Regions from separate parts of the Homo sapiens genome. Here all the other regions are linked to region 1. The links are contacts of gene promoters, found by promoter capture Hi-C in blood cells and fetal thymus (Javierre and others, 2016). All regions are on one chromosome and are shown on one strand. The core of a region is centred on a gene start or on the middle of the fragment in contact, and the rest is flanking DNA. Distances in the headings are between cores, read along the strand shown. Region 1 holds the start of CCDC91 (coiled-coil domain containing 91). Region 2 overlaps SINHCAF (SIN3-HDAC complex associated factor). Region 3 holds the start of IRAG2 (inositol 1,4,5-triphosphate receptor associated 2).

Evidence for each region. Contacts are between HindIII fragments. The CHiCAGO score rates a contact against its expected background, and 5 or more counts as called.
Region 2: a fragment that was not itself captured here is called in contact with the fragment with the promoter of CCDC91 in region 1 in 2 of 17 cell types (fetal thymus and naive CD4 T cells); the score reaches 5.1 in fetal thymus.
Region 3: a contact is called between a fragment that was not itself captured here and the fragment with the promoter of CCDC91 in region 1, in 3 of 17 cell types (naive CD8 T cells, total CD4 T cells and fetal thymus). The highest score is 7.6, in naive CD8 T cells.

What each region holds. Positions count from the first base shown.
Region 1 is chr12:28,189,119-28,191,910 of GRCh38, reverse strand. CCDC91 (coiled-coil domain containing 91) reads right to left here and starts at 1,455. Exons shown (of 13, transcript NM_018318.5): 1 at 1,270-1,455. It overlaps LOC729291 (a long non-coding RNA gene), which reads left to right and starts at 1,173. Exons shown (of 1, transcript NR_148936.1): 1 at 1,173-2,792. RefSeq lists silencers at 1-295, 979-1,408, 1,439-1,488. The HindIII fragment of the contact is 1,439 bases long and covers 655-2,093 here.
Region 2 is chr12:31,317,577-31,320,472 of GRCh38, reverse strand. The region is part of intron 1 of SINHCAF (SIN3-HDAC complex associated factor); the gene reads left to right. Among named protein-coding and RNA genes, the nearest start is that of FLJ13224, 5.3 kb to the left of the region's middle. The HindIII fragment of the contact is 2,624 bases long and covers 264-2,887 here.
Region 3 is chr12:25,050,387-25,053,168 of GRCh38, reverse strand. It overlaps IRAG2 (inositol 1,4,5-triphosphate receptor associated 2), which reads right to left and starts at 463. Exons shown (of 22, transcript NM_001366544.2): 1 at 213-463. RefSeq lists enhancers at 589-958, 999-1,108. The HindIII fragment of the contact is 399 bases long and covers 1,120-1,518 here.

The sequences.
Region 1 (2,792 bases), core at 206-2,705:
GGCAGCCTGGAGGATACCAAACTTCGTAACCAGGGCAATTCTCTACCACACAGTTTACTGGTTAGCCAACACCATGCAGGTGCACTCTGCCTGGCATGACCCTTACTACATTTACCTAATAGGTACAGACAGTATAACCAATCCCCTCAACGCAATAGAAATTGTAGCAGAGGGCAATCAGGTGATCATTAAGTGTAGAACTCTCCGACAGCAGGGAACACAACAGCGAATTTGTTGTCAGTCCCTGTCACCCCACCCAACTAAATATTGTGGGGGGGGGAAGGGTTGCCTTAAATTGTGAAGTAAAATGTCAGCCCACTCCAATAACTCCACCACGCAACATGCAAACTGCTTCCAAAAACCATCATCCAACTCCCACCCGGATTAATATTTGGAGAGAAAGGTGGCATCAGTATCCGCACAGCTGAGAGGGGAGGGAAGGAAAGAGTCAGAATTCATAAGGGGCCGCTGAGTCACCTAAAATTGTGGCCAAGACTTTACCCTCCAGGAAATCGAGCTCTGCCCCAACTCTCATCAAGGAAGCAAGTGAGAGTAGCAGCAGCAACATCATCCTACCAAAAAAACACCAGCGCAGCTTTTAATAGAGTTCCACTCCTTAAAGTGAAGCCAAAAATAGGTTTCATGTCCAAAGCTTTCCTCCGCAGTAGGCGACACGCGCAGATGGAGAAAATATCTTTATTGTTGGGAAAGGGAGGCGTGCTAACGGGGACGAAGGATACCTCACCACTTGGCAAAGTTACTGGCTCCTGCCTTGACCCTGAAATGCCACTTTTATTGCAACATGTGGCCCAAGAAACTCTAAGGAAATGTGGCTGGCAGACGCTGTAGAGCTTTTACCCCAATGTACTTGGCAAAGTAAAAGGGGATACATAAACCAGGCGCGTTCTGTGTAATCTAAGCAAGAATCAAGGTCTCCGTTCGGTAGGCGCTTCGGTGACACAATAATCACGTGTTCGTGGGCGTAGACTTTCGAAAACACTCGATTCTGGGACGTGCAGATACCGGTACCCACCGGCGAGCGCAGGAACGAGTGGGCACTCCCACCCCCGGGAGCTGGCTCCGTTCCCGCAGGAGGTTGGTCACGCCCCCTGACTCCTGGTCGCTGCGACAGCCAAGGGCGAGGCCGCAGCAGGCGGGCTGCAGGCGGCGGAAGCTCGTCCGCGCTCCTCCCCCGGTGGGGCGCTCTCCGCTCGCCTCGCGCGGCCCCGACCCCAAGACCCAGGCCCCGGAAGGCGAGCGTTCACTTACCTGCTCCCCTCTCTCGCTCTCCGCTGCCGCCGCTGCGCCGCTCACCCACGCTGCCCGGTGAGCCACCCCCAGCACACAGACCCCTACGCGTACACCCGAGGCACGGCCCCAGGCCCTTGAGGGGAGACCGCGGCCCAGCCACACAGGTTGGGGTAGCCCACGCACCACCCGGCTTCGAACACCTCTGCCCCCGGAAGTTGATTTCCGCCAAGGCCCGCCCAACACAGCGCCCGTCACTCAACGTAAACACGCGCGTCACGTGGCCCCAGGCCGAGGCCCGGGTCGGGGCCCCATGTTCAGAGCCCTGCCACCCCAGCTTGAGCGTGGTCTTTGGAGCGTTGCCCTGTGAAAAGGGGTGACTTTGCCATGCTCCTTCCCAGTCTACCTCCTGTTAGTTACAGTTTCTCATTCCTCTTGAGTAGCAGGCCCTGTTTCTCCACCTAATCCCTGCAAGTAAACCGTCCCCCAAATCAAAATGAGTTCCATCTGGAACTTTGTAGGATTGGTCCTAAGAAGATCCCGCCGAATCTCTTCACCACTTCCTAGCAGAGCACAGTAAAACCGGGGACTAAGCAAAGTGGCTGACATGTAGTAAGTGCTCAAGAAATGGATGTTGACTAGATGCTACCTCTCATCTTTGCCTGTCTGAACTCTCAAGCACCGGATGCAAGTAGACTGAGAGCCTCCGCCAACCAGTAAGATGACTTTGGTCAAAGAATTCTGCTCTAGAGTTACTTTTGTTCTTGTCTTCAACTCCAGATCACAGCAATTCATACGTGCCATCTCTGTTGCAGAGTTTTCTTGCAAAGCCTTTCTTAAAAGCTTTCTGTCAAATAGCTTGTCCTGAAGCAATAGGAAAAGAATAGCGTAATTCACAGATTATTTATTTGAAAGGAAGGAATGATTATATAGATGTCTTTGTCCATTTCAGACTGTCAATAGCGATGAGAGAAACAGTCAACTAGCAGTCCACTCGTGAATGTTTCTTCTGTTTTTGCCATGGAAGGATTTTGAAGAACATTCATTCAACAAATTTTTATTGATTGTATACCACATACCTAGTCCTGGGCCAAGTTTTGACAATTCAAGAGTGAGCAAGGTAACACTCAAGATATTTGTCTTCAAGAAGCTTACAGTCTAGTGAGAAAGAAAGACACTAACCTGGGGACTTTGAGCATAAATCTCTGGAATATTCACATTCCTTGTATAACAAGTATTCTTTCATCCTTGGACACTGGGTTTCTCATCTGTTGAACAAAATTGGCTTAAACCTGTAATCTCTGTTCTGTACTGGAAGTGGAAAATATTAGCAAGGCATCCTGACAAGTCTGCCATAAGTGCTGGCCTAAGTAGTTAATGAGCAGTTTCAGTATTGAGCAAGTCACCTTGACTACATTCTTTTTCCAGCCCACCCCCTTCTTTATGCATACAAAAAACATTTCTATTGTAAGAAATGTAATGCTTTCTTACACATATTTTTTTATCTGTCTACTAGACTACCAAGTCAAGGACCACTTCTCACT
Region 2 (2,896 bases), core at 326-2,825, 3.1 Mb before region 1:
CTATTGAGTAGAGGAGATAATGCAGTAAACAAGAAGTGAAATCTTATGTGGTAGGTGTTCTAATAAAGGTATGGAAGGGTTTTGTAAAATAAGTAATTCTTAAGAGAATTTCCCAGGTCAAGGGGATAGAGGGTAAGCCGTCTCAGGCAGAAATAACAGCCTGAGTAGAGGGTGGCTAGTTATTAAAGTTTGTTTGACACTCCTAGAATATCAGAATTCCAAGTTGGGAGCAGCTGGTAGGCAGGAGCAGATCCTGAAAAGCTTTGAATTCCTTGCCAAGGAGTTTAGATACTATCATGAAGCCAGTGTTGGTACCTTGGAAGGGAAGATTAGTAGTTGAACTTTAGGAAGATATCACATGTTTAAAGGATGTAGGGAAGTCAGTTACAAGGTTCTGACAGGAGTTCATGCACCATGATGAGGAACAAACAGGCAGTGGGGATGGAAGTGAAGGAAGAAACAGAATTTCTAAGGACTTCACAATAAATTTGATGGAGGGCCATGCAGAGGGTGAAGGAAGAGCTCAGTTGGCTTCCAAGTTGTTTTTGTGTGACTGTGGATGACAACCAAGATAGGTAAATAGAGGAAGAGCAGATTTGGAGGGAAGATTATATAATCAATTCTCAGGGTATTTAAAGATTGGAATGGATTGGTGGTCAGTTGGCCATATTTATCCTAGAGCTAAGGGGAGAGATTGGACCAGGGAATGAATAATAGGTATTACCAATAAGGTTGGTTAGTAACTTCCTGCGAGTGGATTGCCCAAAGACAGAAAGCAAAATGATACCTGAAATGTAAGAGGAAAAAAAGAGAGAAAGAAGAAAGATTGGTGAGTAAAAAGAATTGTCAGAGCTGAGTGCATACCTTGTGCCGATCTTTGTGTTGATGTTGTGTTGATGCTTTACAGATACTATTCAGGAGATTTGGATTTGTCATTATTATTTTGAGACTGAGCTTTGCTCTTGTTGCCTAAACTGGAGTTCAGTGGTGCGATCTTGGCTCACTGCAACCTCTGCCTCTGGGTTCAGGCAATTCTCCTGCCTCAGCCTCCTGAGTAGCTGGGATTACAGGCGCACGCCACCAGGCTGGGCTAATTTTTTGTATTTTTAGTAGAAACGGTGTTTCACCATGTTAGCCAGACTGGTCTCGAACTCCTGACCAGGTGATCCACCTGCCTCTGCCTCCCATAGTGCTGGGATTACAGGCGTGAGCCACTGTGCCCGGCCTGTCATTATTTTATAGATGAGGAAACAGGATTAGTGAGGTTAAGGAACTTTCCTGAGGTTTGGGTCAAATCAGGTGTGTATACTATCATGTATCCATTTTCTTAACATTTTTCTCAAGTTTGAAAATGGGAGAACAGCTTCATAGAGGAGTATATGGGGCTTTTCATGACCTTAAAGTCTCCCTGAAAAGGCTAAGTTCCTCTTTTCCCACAGACCTGGGCTTAAAAGAAAATCTTTAGTAATCAGAATTTTACCTTCAGTTAAATTTGTTGTATATATCTTGGGATAGATAGCATTTATTTTTCTGTAATGTGCAACTCTTATAAATTCAAGGAAATAAACAGAATTTCCCAATGTTACAGAAGGGCAAATAAAATTAGGAGTGACTTCCTATTTAGTTGTAAAGACAGAAGCAGAAATATACTCCAAATTGACTCATTGCAGACCCAAGTATGGTTATATTTTCTAACTCATAATCATCCATTAAAAGCAAATAAATATTCTTTCTGACACTTTCAGTTTTTTTTTTCATGTACTGGAATTCCTCTTAATCTAGAATTGGGAGACCTAGTTTTGTTTCTCTTTTTTTTTTTTTCGCTCTACCAAAATTGGAGGGGCCTGGTGTTTTACACTATCTAAAGCCCAGAGACTTGAATTTGTAATTTTATTTTTAACCTATGCCATTTCAGTTGAAGACTTGTTTATTTCTGAGTTTGACCTCTTTCCTATATAGGATGAGTTTTAGGCTCTTCTGCCAAGTGTGGATTCCATAGACAGCCACAGTTATAAATGCTTTACCATATAATTTCTCAGAGACAGGGCACATGTTTGAAGAGGCTGTTGGCAAACAAGTGGGGTCTGCTACCCCTTTCTCAGTTTTATTCTAGACAGATTTACATTTATCCCTTAAAGTTAGCTAAATTCAGGAATTTTGCTGAGATGTAGGCTGCTATCTAGAAGCAGGTAAGAGGAAATAATGTCTTACTGCTCCATGGGTTTCCTTAACTGCAGATGAAACATGTCTCATTATTGGGGAATACTGCAGCCAAATAGCCTAGCCGCGGGAGAATACAAAGCATTTAGTCCTGTTGACCGTTTGTGAAAAGTGTTGCTCCAGTTACACTGTTAGTGTTTACTGGATGCTGTACTTAAATGTGATTAATGATAGCATATGATTGACTAAAATGGTGTCAGTGGTGGCATTACCAATTACAGGAACTCAAGTATCCCCACAGTTTGTGATCGCGAGTATTTTTTCGTGTTATTTCTTTTCCTTTCCCATCATCATGATTTCTAGTTTGGCTCTAAAGAAATGCATCTCCTTCACTTCAAAGTTGTCTTTGGTTGCTTAGTTCTTTTTGTCTTTGTTCACTGCTGCTTCCTTCCCACTTTACAAATCTTTCGCTTGTCTCCTGTCTGCAGTTTCCTTCCCATTCTGCTCTGTGTGTATTTAGATCTTACCAGTCTATTTCGTAGTCTCTCCCATGGAGTGTATTTTCTAATTTGTATCTCTCCATCTGTATGTCTTTGAGGAAGTTTATTTAAGCTCTCTGTGCTTTTTTAGATTACTCTTAAGGTGTGTCTTGATAACCAAGGTTATTGGAGAGTGATGCTCTTGGTTAAAAAAAAAAAAGCAGGAGGTAGTAAAGTGAAAGTAAGCTTCTTTTATG
Region 3 (2,782 bases), core at 70-2,569, 3.1 Mb after region 1:
GGCAAAAAGGGAAGTTAATGGTTAAACCCATGCATGCACCTAGCCACTCAGCAAACCTCTCTGAAAGCCCCACAATATTGCCTTCTCAAACCATTTCATTGTCATAAACTCAGGAATAATATCCTAGCTGTAATCTAGAAAAATGTCTGTAGTCCTATGCCCCGCCTGAGGGTGGACAAAAACTGGGTCATAAATGAATATTTGCTACTCACTCTTCAGTTTCCTTGTCTTCTGCTGAAGTGCCTGGCAAGTGTTCGATAATTCAGTATTTATAGTTTGAAGGTTCCGTTGTTCCGAAATTGCTTCCTCTAATTTATGCAGTAAAGACGTAGCTTTTTCACTGGCAGTGTGGGCTTCTCGATCTCGATCCTTACCCTGGACATGGATAGTTAGTGCTGGATTGTAGCAGTGTGGCCAGGAAAGAAAGCAATGGAGTGCTCACTCTTATGATGCAGGCAAAACTGAAAATGTGTTTTTCTTCTCAGGGAAGTGATAAGCCTCTCCTGAACTTCTGCAATTCTGTGTTTGCATGGGCTTGGTATGCCTGAGCTATTTCTACAGCGGTTAAAGTCCTGATATGTCAAGTTGCCTCTTTCTGCAGAGTCGCCTCTTTCATCAGCAGGCTGTTGATACCGCCTCTCTTACAACTCCCCCTTTACTTCCTCTGCTCACTGTTAGTCGCTAGGGACTGAACTTGCAGTTCCTCTTTGCTTTTTTTTTTTGTTTGTTGTTGTTGTTCCTCCTCCATTTTTATTTCATGGTTTGCAGGGCATCTGAGGAGATGTCCCCTGAATCTAATGTAGCCATGAGCCACCCTACCTGCTCCTCCACATCCTCCAGCCGTTGGCTGGTTTCTTGGAGCCTCTTCCTAAGGATGCCTTCCTGGTTGACAGCATCTTCCTGTAGTTGTTTAATGGCTTCTAGTTGTTTCTGACTGGAGTTAAAAAAAAAAAAAAAAAAAAAAGTCCAAACCGCAAGCTGTCAGTGACATTTCAACTAAGAGTCACCCTGTGAAATTATGACAAACTCAAACTTAACACCACTTCCTTAGAGATCAGAGGAAAAAGTGAAAGTATTTACATATAAATGCTTCACAAATATAAAATCTTAAGCAAAGCTTATTGGTCGCTTAGCCTGACACCCTCACTTTACAGATAAGGACTTCTAGTTTCATCTTTTACACTGGTGTGTTCAGTTCCCACCAGCTGCATTCATAGCACTTAGCATCAGTTGCCAGTTGCCAGTTACTCAGAAGATGGCTCTACAATGAGGTCAGGGTGACAGGTGCAACATTTACACATCACAGCTAGCTTTTACAGAAAAAGAAAGGAATGGGGTAAAGGTAGGGGGAGGGAAAAGAAAAGGAAAGAGAGCTTTGTTTCATGACCTTAGCCTTTCTCCTTAAGGGTTGTCAATCATAGTATAAACACGTGCCACGAGCACAGGAAGGACCGCCCCCAGGCACAGATGAAAGCTGGCGGTTGATATTTCTACTTTAGTCCTCTTTTTGCTGAAGCTTTTCTCCCCATCACCCTTCCCCACCACAGATCTCATGGTGCCATTACGTTACACCTCATTTGGATCCAATTCTAATCTCTAAAACATGTAAAAATGCACTTACTCTCTGTTAGCAGATGAGATTATTTAATGTGTGTTACATGCCAGTACCTCAATGATTATCTGGAAACAATCTGACTTGAATATGGACCTTAACTCAAAGTGGTGATAAATGTCGGGAGTTGCAAAACAGCAAGGAAGACATTGTCAGCCGTAGGCCTTGTGCATGCCTCTCAAACGTTAACATTTAGTCAGAATGCCACTGCACACTGGCACAAATCCAGCCCTGGTTACACGAAGGACCACATGAGAGGCAAGAATGGTCTCACAGAATGCTTACCATACTGGTAAACAAGCAAACAAAATCCTAAGCAAAAATAAAAACTGCCTACATCACCACACTTTCCACTGAGCGTCCTTCAATAGCTTATCGTTGTCTCTCTCACTCTCTTTTTCTCTCTTTTTCTTTAACTGTGGCAGGAACATTTAACAGGAGATTTACCCACTTAACAAATTTTTAAGTGTACAATACAGTATTATTAACTACAGGCATAATGTTGTACAGCAGATCTCTAGAACATCTTCATCTTGCATAACTGAAACTTTATACCTATTGAGTAGCAACTCCTCATTTCCCCTCCCCTAGCTCCTGGCAACCACTATTCTCTCTCTTTCTATTAGTTTAACTATTTTAGATACCTCAGAGAAGTGGGATCGTGCAGTATTTGTTGTTCTGTGACTCACTTATTTTACTTGGGATAGTGTCCTCCAGGTTTATCTATGTTGTCATATGTGGCAGAATTTCCTTCTTTTTAAAGGTTGGATAATATTCCCTTGTATTTATATACCAAATTTTCTTTATCCAATCATCCGTGGACATTCAGGTTGTTTCCAAATCTTGGCTATTGAGAATAATGCCGCAGTGAATATGGGAATGCAAATAGCTCTTCCAGGTGCTGATTTTAATTATTTTGGATAAATACCCAGAAGTGGGGTTCCTAGATCAGATGGTAGTTTAATTTTTAATATTTTGAGAAAACTCTGTAACTGTTTTTTTTTGTTTGTTTGTTTGTTTGTTTTTTTTGAGACGGAGTCTCGCTCTGTCTCCAGGCTGGAGTGCACTGGCGCGATCTCAGCTCACTGCAACCTTTGGCTCCCGGGTTGAAGCGATTCCCCTGCCTCAGCCTCCCGGGTAGCTGGGACTACAGGCACGCACCACCATGCC